2 separate regions of the Homo sapiens genome follow, and region 1 is linked to region 2. The links are contacts of gene promoters, found by promoter capture Hi-C in human tissues and cell types (Jung and others, 2019). All regions are on one chromosome and are shown on one strand. The core of a region is centred on a gene start or on the middle of the fragment in contact, and the rest is flanking DNA. Distances in the headings are between cores, read along the strand shown.

Region 1 (6,084 bases), core at 2,337-4,836, 800 kb before region 2:
ACTTTGGGAGGCTGAGGCGGGCGGATCACCTGAGGTCAGGAGTTCAAGACCAGCCTGGCCAACATGGTGAAACCCTGTCTCTACTAAAAATACAAAAATCAGCTGGGCGTGGTGGTGGGCGCCTGTAGTCCCAGCTACTCGGAAGGCTGAGGAAGGAGAATGGCTTGAACATGGGAGGCAGAGGTTGCAGTGAGCTGAAAATGCGCCACAGCACTCCAGCCTGGGCGACCGAGCAAGACTCTGTCTCAAAAAAAAAAAAAAAAAAAAATCACACTCAGGTCTTTTACCTCCATCCCACCCCCAAACCCCACCCTTTGGGTCTGGTCTTACAACCAGCTGTTTAGAAACTTAAAAAAAAAAAATTGACACATAAAAATTGTGTGCATTTATGGTGTACAGCAAAATGTTTTGAAATATGTATACATTATGGAATGGCTAAATTAAGTTAATATATGCATTACCTCACATACTTATTTTTTGTGCATGATGAGAACACTTAAAATCTACTCTTAGTGATTTTCAAGTACATGATACATTGTTATCAACTCTAGTCACCATGTTGTACCATAAATCTCTCGAACTTATCCCTCCTGTCTAACTGAAATGTTGTATCCTTTGACCAAAATCCCCCCAGTCTTCCCCACCACCACAGAGAACTGTTACCATAATTGTGGTTGTAAGCTGTTTCTGAGGAGCCAGTTTATTTGTTTTGAACAGAATTAAACAACATAGAAAATCCCTGTCCAGACCCTCAACCAAGTTAATTCATTCAAAAAAATATTTCTGAGTTCCTCTTAGGAACTTACAGCCTAACGGGCAAAACAAACTGCTTGTAAAATCTGTTTACTTGATACATGGAATTGCCTTTTAAAGAATGATGGCCATTTTAACAGAGAAAATAAATTTGGAGGGTATAATCAATCATTGAGTAAATCTGCTTTGTGAAACATGCCTGCTCAAAGTTTGTTTGTTTCACAGTAAATTCCTTTTTGATGCCCTTACCTCATCAAGTAGTTGAGATGAGGCATGTACTCAGTTCTTTCTTTTTATAAATAGCAAAGCTACTTGGAACACTAAAGGGGGAAATGAATCCATACCAGCAAATATCGTAGAAAGAGCATGGGCTCAGTCTCAGACACACCTGGGTCGCAGCCCAGCTCTGCCACTTACCTAGTTGAATGAACTTATGCAAGATTTTTTAATCTCCCTGAGCCTCAGTTTCTTGTTTATAAAAGAGGTTTTTGTCTGGATTAAATATTACATAGAACAGCACTTGTAATACAGTAGGCATCCATGAATAGGAGCTTGTATGATTGCTACATCACTACTACATTCAGGTGCGTCAGCCAAGACTTCACTTTGGATGTACTTTTTTAACTGCCTGACTGTGGTCAAGGGCCAAACGACGGTGGAAACTAGAAAGATCAACTCTTAATTCTGCCCTTTGAACAACGTGTAGGCTGAAGGAAACTAAATATTTGTGTGTGTGTGTTGGATCCACAATTTACGATCCATCCTTTTTGCAGGAGTGCCAACCCATGAGGTTGCCAGAGTAGCATTTCAGAGCATCTGCACAAACCCCACAGATCAATGTCAGTGCCTGCCTGAGAATGAAAAAGCAATGGGACCAGGAAGGATAAGTCTTGTCAATCAAAAACAGAATATGCAGGAAGGACAAGGGCAAGTTGTCCTTGAGAGAATGGGATAGAGAAGAGATTTCCTCCAGACACCTCCAGGGTAGGGATGTAGAACCCTCTTTCTAGCTGCCTAATGTTCATTCTGTCTTTAGTGCATCCTTGAGGAAAGGAAGAAGACAGAGTTTTCCATCTGCCAGATGTCTCCCTTATCCCAAGTTTTATTCATATATCAATTTATTTCCATTATCACAGGAGGTCTCCCAAGCCTCACTTCAACAGACTGGCTTCCCAAGATGGTGGATTGGTTGATACCCTTTGGACCCATCCCCAAAGACAGGCAATACTGATTTTGTTTTTTGGCTAAAATGAAGTATTGGCCTGCTAAGACACAAACTCTTTGTGTAGATATTTTTTTAAAAAAATATTGTAAAATATTCATAATATATATTTACCATTTTAACTATTTTTAGTGTGTAGTTCTGTGGCATTAAATACATTCACACTGCTCTGCAACCATTACCACCATCCATCTCCAGACCTTCATCATCTTCTTCCACTGAAACTCTGTACCCATTAAATAACCCTTTCCCCCTACCCTTAGGCCCTGGAAACTACAATTCTACTTTGTCTCTATCACTTTTACTACTCCAGTTACCTCATATAAGTAAAATAATACAATATTCGTGCTTTTGTGACTGGCTTATTTCATTTAGCATAGTGTCTTCAAGGTTCATCCATGTTGTAGAGTTTGTCGGAATTTCCTTTCTTTTTAAGGCTGAATGATTGTGTTGACTTAAAGATGTTGCAGTCTCAGTTGATGGCCTCATAGTTTGAGCCTTGCTATAAAACTTTATGCTTAACAAAGCTTTGAAAAACAACTGATTTCATTAGTACATAAGTAGCTGAAAGTGTTGCTGAGTATTTATTATAGCTGGCGAAAAAAACATATAGATGTTTTTAATAAAAATTATCTTCACAGAATGGTATCTTAAGTTGGAAACTACATGTTGGCATCCTTGCAAAGAGATAATATTATTTGATTAACACTTGTGATAGTAGAATCACTCATACTCTATGATTTCTGGCATCTGAGTGACGAGGCACATAAATAGGCCTCACAGGGAAGTCTACAGATAATTTCATACCCCAAGGTTACTCACTGAAATAACTAGATCAAAAACCAAGCAACTGAATTCTCATCAAATTCCTCCCATCCTCTCTTACCAATCATCTTGCTAAAAAGTTTTTAAACTCACATCATAAAATATCATATTTATGTATCGATTAATTTATTCAGTGTACATATTTATTTGCTAGAATTCTACAATAAATTTAGCTGTAACCAATAAGGAAATATGAGGTATAAAAGAAAGCGTAGCATTTGTTCAGGAGAAATGAGGCTCTTCTGGCCATGTAAACCTAAAAAAGGATTATACTTCAATCTTATGTTGTAACTTTGGATGCTATGATACATGTTCAGTTATTCTGGAAGACTTTATAATGTTTGCTTAGAATCTGGACTTGTTGATAGTATTCTACAGTGTTATCAAGAGATGGAATAAGCACAGTAAGCCACTTGTAACTTTTTAAAATTTATAAGTATTAATTTTTAAGCTGTGTCTTCAACTTTTGAGGTAGCATTCCTCTCCAAGTGACTACACTTCCTCAGTGTCTTTGAACCATTATAGCATAGGATGAGAAAGAAACTAAAGGGGGAATGGAACATTTTTTGATCACAGGAGAAAGATGATCTGGAAATCATAACAATGGATGAAGATGCCAGAAAGAAGAGCTTGTAGGATGAGGTGGAAAACAAAATACTGGCTCCTGAAGGCTCTGTTAAAAGTTGACTTTTTGTAAGAATTTTGTATATCATGCCTGTCATAAACATTCAGCTTCATTGTGCAATGAAGACAGATGACAAGAATTTGCTGCTCCAAAAACAACAAAAAAGAGCAACTTCTCTGTGTCCTTGGAATCTGGTTTCTTCAGTTCCAAACATGCAGTGAAAACTTGTGCCTGTAAGAGCTGGGGGCAGTTGCTTATGTAACTAATTAAACATCTACGTAAATATGAGAATGGGAGAAGCCTTCTCTATTCTCATCAGCTGTTCTAACGTGAAGAGGCATGCAGACTTGAGAGACAGGCACAGTTTAGTTGTCTTACACTGACGCTCTTACATAAGCTTCAAGGTCATGAAGTTTTCACCATTTTGTTTCCAAATAGTAGGAGGAAAAAACAAGTTTTACAAGTCCCTTATCAGGGAGGGAAAGGGCTTGGGAAGGTTTAAGTTAGCAGAAAACTTTTGTAGATCAGACAAGGATTGGAGATGTGAGGAAGAGATTAAACACAGAGGAACTGGTGGAGAAATATTCTGAGGAAAGAAGATTATAACAGTAGATGGGGAATTGACAATAGCCAGGAAGAGTGGCAGACCTTTCTTTTGGAGACAGAAGATAAGTAAAAAGCCAAAGAGAAGACAGAGATGACTTTTGACATTGAGAAAAAAAAAAGCCAAGGGAACTCAGACATCTTATTGCAAATGAGGAGGTGATGTCTCCTTTTGCAGAAGAATGGGTGGAACTTGGGCTTTGGGATGGCTTGGCCTACCCCAGGTGGGGGATGCAAGCTAGAGATTGGAAGAGATGAATGAAGGGATAATCGCACAGTGACAGGGAGTCACCTAGGATGATGTAGACTTATAGTATGGCATAAGAAGCTGTGTCTGGAGGATGTATTTAAAATCTTGGAGATGGGGTAATCTTTTGGGGTCATTATATCTAAGGCAGCACATTGTGAGTGCCAACAGAGGCCATTATAGTTGAGTAGATTGAAGACATGCAAAGCCAGAGTATTAAAGCCACCTACTGGTTTATGAAAGCCAATGAGAAGGCAAACAAGAGATACAGAAGAAAATTTAAAATTTTCACAGTTATATCTTAATAACCCTCGACTAACCTAACGATGCCTCATCTGTATGATAAAGACTTTGAGCGCAGACATGATATAACTCTCAGAACCTTCTAAGTAGCATTTGATTTAGCAGAGCAAGGTGTTTTAGTTTAAAATCCTATCCTAGCATTGGATCTGACACATCATGGAAATGAGGATAGATGAATATGAGGAGTTCTGCCCATTCCTACAGGCACTGATGTCAAGGCAAAGTAATTGTCTTTGCCTCTGGGTCTAGCAGAGTCCTGTGTACACCCTTGCTCTTCTGTTCTGGTTTTTAATCTGGCCTGTCTGAGGAAGTAGAAGTCCCTTGGCTAGCAATTGTGTTATAACTATCTATAAATCACTCGCATAAAATCTTTGAGAACCCACGAGTAGGGTCTTTTTAATTTGTATGTCTCTACATCTCCCTTAGTAGCTGGCATGTATGTAGTGTTAAAAAATATATCCATAAAATGAATGAATGGATAAGCTGTGCTCTCTGAGTCCACATTTCTCTAGAATACGATTTTTGTGAGGTTTTCAGCTTCTATGAACCTCTCCATTCTTGTTCCACTCAGCATATTTTTTTGAAAGATACATAGATATCATCTAACTGTAAAAACAAATCGTTTGCACTGGCCCCTGTAGGCAAGGTCTGCTTCTTCCCACTGAGTCTGCCTTGGGTCCTCTGCTCTTAATTTTGCTGGTACCTGGACTGATAATCACCCTGCTCAATTGATTGTGCCTCCTACAACAATAGTGGAAGCCATAAATAAGAGGTGAAGTGAAGGAGCCTGAATAAATATAAAGAAGGCTGCATAACTATGATGATGCCTGTAGTCAGTGACACAGTCTCAGCTTGAAATCACCACTCCTGCTAGATGGAGGTCACAGCTTTTTTCTGTCTCAGGGCTACTGGTTACCAAGAATGTAACCAGTCCAGTCAACACCTTTGTATGAGTTAATAAAAGGTGTCCCTCTACAGAGGCAGGCGCAGCCTACACCAGAGTGCCTGGCATGGTGAAGCAAATGGGCTGGATGTCAGCCTCCACTGGACCATTCGGGTGGGTAGGCACCTTGTGCAGTGAACAACCTGCATACCTGTTGGTATGCCTTTGCCCCTGCTGGTTATGCACTCTTTTGGGCCTAGGTCTCCTGGGAAGTTTCCTAGTCAGTCCTGAAGTAAGAATCACAGTCCCATTCCCATTCTAAAAATTGTATATAAGTTTCCCAGTCCAAACTGTACCTTGGTAACAATGAGGAGACATAGAGGAACAGAGCCCGGGGTGTGCAGGGTGTGCTGTGATTAGATGTTTGCATCACTCTGAACATGCACTTTTCCCTTCTGTTAACAAAATGAATAGAATAACCCTACATGAAAGGCTTTTTCTGCTACATAAAGGCAAACTCTAGTTGTCTCTTCACAGTCATCTTTGGGGTTTAGTGCTAGCAAGTGTAAAATTTACATATATAAGATTTACTTACATGCTAGCTGTACCAGTCCAGTAAAGCG
Region 2 (6,003 bases), core at 2,514-5,013:
TGCCTGCCAGCGTCCTGAGCGCCAGCCAATATTTGGATAGTGCAGTAGTTGTTTAAAAACAACAAAAAAAAATTACTCGCGGAAACTTGAAACCGACTGGTTGGTGCCAGGGTGGTTACACGATCTGTTTTTCTTGAGAGGGGGTCTGCAGGCAGCTGGAGCGCGCGCGTTCCGGCCCCCGCCGGTGCCACTGAGCGCCTGCAAAACTTGTCGGAATTAACCTCCGGGGAAGTAGGGGAAGAGGAGAGCGCGCCCCCCTCCCCACCGCGGCCCCAGCTCTGCACCCCGGCCCAGTGCCGCGCTTGGAATCCCCCAGGATCCTCCGCGGCGGCCGCAGCCCGCCACTCTCCAAAACAGACACGCGACCCGAGCTCCCTGTCTGCGCTCTAGGCAGCAATTGCGGCCTGGGCCGCCGCGTCCGGCTGTGGCCTAGGTGGTGGGAAGTACTTTCTACCCTCGCCAAGCACAACCTGAATGCGGAAGCGTGAGGCTCGGGGCGCTTCGCTCAGCCTCCGAGACTGTTTTGTCCCAGGTTGCGTGGAACCTGGCTCGCCGAGGCCGAAGACACTGGCCAAGCCCCTGGCGTCCCCTGGCGCTGAACCTGAGGTTGTGGCGGCGGGTCTGCGGGCTGTAGCGAGCTCACCCAGTGAGGGCCTGGCTCATTTTTTGTGCTCAGGGTTCGCGTTATGCGCCCAAGATTTGTCCCGGGAGTCCCTGAAGGGCCCCTCCCCTCGATCGGTTCCCAGGAGCCGCAAGTGCCCAACGGGCACGGTCCCAGAGCTGCTCCCCAAAAGGAGACTCTGCTGTTCCAGCAACCCGCGGAAGGGATGCTATCCGAGGTATCAACAAAAGATCCCTTTGCTCGAGCTGCGTGTGGGGTCGAAGTCCGGAGAGCCCTTAAGTGTGCGGCACGCAGAGCTCCTCAGCAGCGGCCTGACAGCGGTGCAGGAGACCCCAGCTTCCTGGGCTGGGACAGGGCTGTTGTCTCACGGTCTTGTTCCAAGGAAAAGGAGCCACCTGGCTCCAGCAGGCTCTTGTCAAACTGTGAGCGTCCTTGGAATTCTGTGGCTTCCCGAGGCCAAGAGGCTGTCCGCTGCTCGGCTCTCTCAAGTGTCTCAGCGGACAAAAATCGCGCAGAAACTCCTATGGCAGGAGGAAAGCTTCCGACATACAGTGAAAGAGAAAACATCTTACTTTGAAAAGGGCTTAGGACCAAGAAGCTGCTCTTTTCCCCGGGCCTTCTTGCAAGCTTCAGTCGTAACATCTATTCTCAGACGTCTTCTGGCCTAGGACAAACTGGCCACATAGAGCTAGCCAGAAATCTAGCTCCTGACTAAAGATGGAAATTACGGGCCTGACCCGCTCACGGCACTCCTGCGACCTGGCTAAGCCACCCCACGGACAGACGTGCTCCCACCGTCCAGCTCACCAAAAGCCAGAAGCTGAAAACACCCGATCTGGTGTCACCAAGGTTGCTAGTTAGGGGGCAGCCCCCCAAGCAGCTGGGCCGATGGCTTTCTTCCAGGTTAGGCGTGGGAAAACCGAGGGAGCCATAGTGTCCAAATGCTCCTTTCTCCTCAAATCGCCTAACGGGAAAGGACCCGTGAATTTCCAACTTCAGCCACCCTATTTTACAAATAATGAAACAGTCCCAGAGACGGAGAGTATACTTGTTTCTAAACTCTGCTTTTCCTCCCAGCTGAAGGGCAAAGGTAGCCAAAACGAGTATACAACTTCAGGTTCTCCCTGCAGTAAACTGGGGTTTCCTGCTGGGTGTTTGGATGAGTGCAGAGCAGGAACCTCCAAGCAGAAGGACCTCACTCCTGGGTTCATCCACCTCTCCCTCGCAGATCACACCAGGATCCTGTGGACTGATAATTTTTGCTTCCTATTTAATTATTTCCATTCCACCTCCTGCCTCGCCCTGGCCCCACACCACCGTGCTAAGAATAGCAAAGATTTCCTTCCAGCACACACAGGTGATGGGACCCCTGAATCCCCAACTCTTACTTCTGGCCCCAGCTCAGACATCGCCATCCCAGAGAAACCTCATCTTGTCCAACTCACTCGCTCCAGGAAAGTGTGGTGGAGCCTCCATTCGCCAAGCCCTTTAGTGCCTATTCTATTAATTTCTTGGTTACTGTTCGTCTCACCCTCTATACCGCGATGGTGGAGCTCGGATACTGTCTCCTGTCTCCCTGCACCTGGTGCCTCACATGCAGTTGGCGCGCAATAAAACTGAGATGAATTTGGCATTTGGTGAAAACACCCCATGCTTTCTTCCCCATGAGTTTTTCCCTCCAGCCCTCTAATCATCGGGGTTTCTTGCAGAGAAGAGGCCTTGAGGACACGATACTCTGAACTTGACCCAGAGTGTCTAGCCCAGGAAAAAGGGTTTGTAAGGAGAGAGAAGCTCACAGCGAGTAGATGAAAACAGGGAAGGGTAAAAGGAAGGGGGCGGAAGAGGGAGATGCCAGAGAGAAGAGAAGCAAGAAGGCAGTGTCCTGTTCCCCCTCCACCGTGCTTGGTGGCCCGGGTGGGGCGCAGCTGCGGGAAATGCACCCGGAGCTGTGCCCCCTCCCGGCGAACAGCCTGCGCCACCCGCCGCACCGGGAGGTGGCTGGGGGCTGCCGAGCGAGTGGTGAACGCGATGGGTGGAGAGCGCCCGAAACGAGGTGGAAAAGGGGGCGGGGGCGAGGCACGGCGCCTTCTTGCCCCTTCTTCAGCTACAGACGCGGCGGCGGCGGCTGAGTCCCTCAGCCTCGGTCATGTGATAGTCTCGAAGCGCTAGCTGCGGGGGTCTCGGCGTCTCGGGGACCATTACAAAACGCAGCCAGGAGAGCGCGTCGCTGCCACTGCCGTCGCCTCTCCTCCTCAAGACAAGCCCGGGAGAAAGGCGGCAGCTGCGGCGCGGACGGCTGAGCCTCCCCGGCCAGCACTCACCCAGCATTCGCAGACGCCCTCTCCAGCCCGCCGCTCGCTCCCAGAGTCCTGCGCCCCACACTCCTCAGCAGAACCTGCGGGCGCTGCCGCTTCAGAAACCACCAAAGTTTTTTCTCCTCAGCGACAGCCTAGGGCTGCGCGTCTCTTCTAACCCCGGCGACGCTGCGAGCCTCGGAGAAAAGAGAGGCGCCCTAGAAGCCAATCTTCTCTCTCCTTACCCTGATTTTTCACTCCAGGAAAAGGAGAACTCCAGCGCGGTCTGGCTAAGTGCCTGGCCAGGGGCCTGCGTCCAGGGCACTGGAAGTCCTGCTGTCACTGGCCTCCAGGACAGCAGGCGCAAACTCAGATTTAAAGGGCCAGAGTCTCTACTGCCCAGACCTTCCTCCCAGCCATCTTGGTCTGGGTTTCCCTCGGACCTAGAAAAAGCAAAGAGGCCGGGAGGAAACACGGCCCCTTGCCACTCTCCTCTGCAGCCAGCTCCAGCACTCAGTCTTTGGCCACCCGGGGGAAGACGCAGAGAAGGCGGCGGTAAACCTGGTGCACTCCGCCCGCGACTGTGCGCGCCAGTCGGCAACCGTCGGGGCCAGAAGTTGCCAGCTTCCGAGAGCTGAGTAGGCCCGAAAGGCCAAGGTCGGAGACACCAGGCAATTCGGAGAAGGCAGGAGAGAGAAGCAGAGAGGGCCTGGAGGGCGAGAGGGCAAAGTGGCGGGACTGGAGGGGCCGAGTGGGAATTAGTGGGGGCAGCCAGGCCCCAGGAACGGAGTGCGGAGAGATTCTGTGGTCCAGTGCGGGCCGGAGGGCGGTGGAGGAGCCGGGGGCGATGCCGCGGCCGGGGAAGAGCTCGTACAGCGACCAAAAACCGCCCTACTCTTACATCTCGCTGACCGCCATGGCAATCCAGCACTCGGCCGAGAAGATGCTGCCGCTGAGCGACATCTACAAGTTCATCATGGAGCGCTTCCCCTACTACCGCGAGCACACACAGCGCTGGCAGAACAGCCTGCGCCACAACCTCTCCTTCAACGACTGCTTCATCAAGATTCCGCGGAGGCCCGACCAGCCTGGCAAGGGTAGCTTCTGGGCGCTGCACCCCGACTGCGGGGACATGTTCGAGAACGGCAGCTTCCTGCGGCGTCGCAAGCGCTTCAAGGTGCTGCGCGCCGACCATACTCACTTGCACGCGGGAAGCACCAAGAGCGCGCCGGGCGCCGGTCCGGGAGGGCACCTTCACCCCCATCACCACCACCACCCCCACCACCACCATCATCACCACGCTGCCGCACACCACCACCATCACCACCACCCACCCCAGCCGCCGCCGCCGCCGCCCCCGCCGCCGCCGCACATGGTACACTATTTCCATCAGCAACCGCCTACTGCTCCGCAGCCGCCTCCGCACCTCCCGTCACAGCCCCCGCAGCAACCGCCCCAGCAGTCGCAGCCTCAGCAGCCGTCTCACCCCGGCAAGATGCAGGAGGCGGCGGCCGTGGCGGCGGCGGCGGCGGCGGCCGCGGCAGCCGCGGTGGGCAGCGTGGGACGCCTGTCTCAGTTCCCACCCTACGGGCTGGGCTCGGCCGCCGCCGCTGCCGCCGCGGCCGCGGCGTCCACGTCAGGCTTCAAGCACCCCTTTGCCATTGAGAACATTATTGGCCGGGACTACAAGGGCGTGCTGCAGGCTGGAGGGCTGCCCTTGGCGTCCGTCATGCACCACCTGGGCTACCCCGTGCCCGGCCAGCTTGGCAACGTCGTCAGCTCCGTGTGGCCGCACGTTGGCGTCATGGATTCGGTGGCCGCCGCCGCGGCCGCCGCAGCCGCAGCCGGAGTCCCTGTAGGCCCGGAGTATGGGGCCTTCGGGGTCCCGGTCAAGTCCCTGTGCCACTCGGCAAGCCAGAGCCTGCCTGCCATGCCGGTGCCCATCAAGCCCACGCCTGCGCTGCCGCCCGTGTCCGCGCTGCAGCCGGGGCTCACTGTCCCCGCGGCTTCGCAGCAGCCTCCGGCGCCATCCACCGTGTGCTCCGCGGCCGCGGCCTCGCCCGTTGCCTCTCTGCTGGAGCCCACAGCCCCTACCTCGGCCGAAAGCAAGGGCGGCTCCTTGCACTCGGTGCTAGTGCACTCCTAGGGGACCCGGCGGGCGTGGGGAGACCAGCGGGGTGAGAGACGCCGGGCCCGGAACCGCCCAAACCACCCGACGGGGAGAGGGCGCCCTGGTCAGGCCGGGCAGAGCTGGCGAGTCTCAGCCTTTGCTGGAACGGAAGGTATTTAAATAGACGAACAACCCCGAAAAGTGGATTCTCCAGTGGTCTGAATAAATATAACCTTCCTGGTGTCTGTGTTTATACTATGTTGTACAATCAGATTAATGAAAGCCAATTTTCAGGTAAGAGTTTCTATTGTAATTAATATAAATCCATAAGTTATGGGGGGAGGGAACGAAGGAGGTTAGGAAAGCCTCATTCGCTGGTAAATTGGAAGTCGATTCTGACCCTTATTCCTGGGAGCAGAAGCTGGCAGAGCTAAACCTCCCGCGAAGAATCCAACAGAGAGTGACGCTGAAACGGATCTCAGCCACCACGTTTCTCTCTGCTGGTCGCATCCTCGGCGGTCGCCTCTCGTGAACATTCAAGACAAAACTGCCGTCCACTAAGGAAATTTCGTTTTATTTAAGAAGGAAAAGAGGAAGCGTTTGATACCGTTATTTTCCTAGTCAGCTAAATGGGCAAGGAAACGGTGTCATGAATAAAGTCGCTTTGGAGGGGGAAGGGGAGGAGAGGAGGCAGCGGGAACCCCACGAAATATCTTTGGGAAACAGCTAAGGTTCTTGGCTCTGACCTGGGGGTCAAGAAGGATAGGAGGAACCTCTAGAGCAATTAGTTTGTACAAAAGAGAATGGCAGCAGCTTAAAGGGTAAAGCCCCAAATTCCAAAAGTTGGGAAACACAACCAAAGGGAGACAATACAGGCGACTTTCCACCTGCAACTTGTTTGGGTATCAGTCGGATGAGAGCCCAAGAATAATGTGAATTCCCACGATCCTTTCTATTTGGAATTTTAAGGAAACAAA

What was found. The method cuts DNA at HindIII sites, captures the fragments that hold promoters and counts their contacts. A contact is called where the count stands out against the background at its distance.
Region 1: a fragment that was not itself captured here is called in contact with the fragment with the promoter of FOXB2 in region 2 in 1 of the 25 tissues and cell types used here (lymphoblastoid cells).

Annotation. Positions count from the first base shown.
Region 1 is chr9:76,220,280-76,226,363 of GRCh38, forward strand. All of the region lies in intron 20 of PCSK5 (proprotein convertase subtilisin/kexin type 5), which reads left to right. Among named protein-coding and RNA genes, the nearest start is that of RFK, 170 kb to the right of the region's middle. The HindIII fragment of the contact is 4,753 bases long and covers 1,211-5,963 here.
Region 2 is chr9:77,015,892-77,021,894 of GRCh38, forward strand. FOXB2 (forkhead box B2) reads left to right here and starts at 3,764. Exons shown (of 1, transcript NM_001013735.1): 1 at 3,764-5,062. The coding sequence starts at 3,764. The coding sequence ends at 5,062. The HindIII fragment of the contact is 6,747 bases long and covers 530-6,003 here.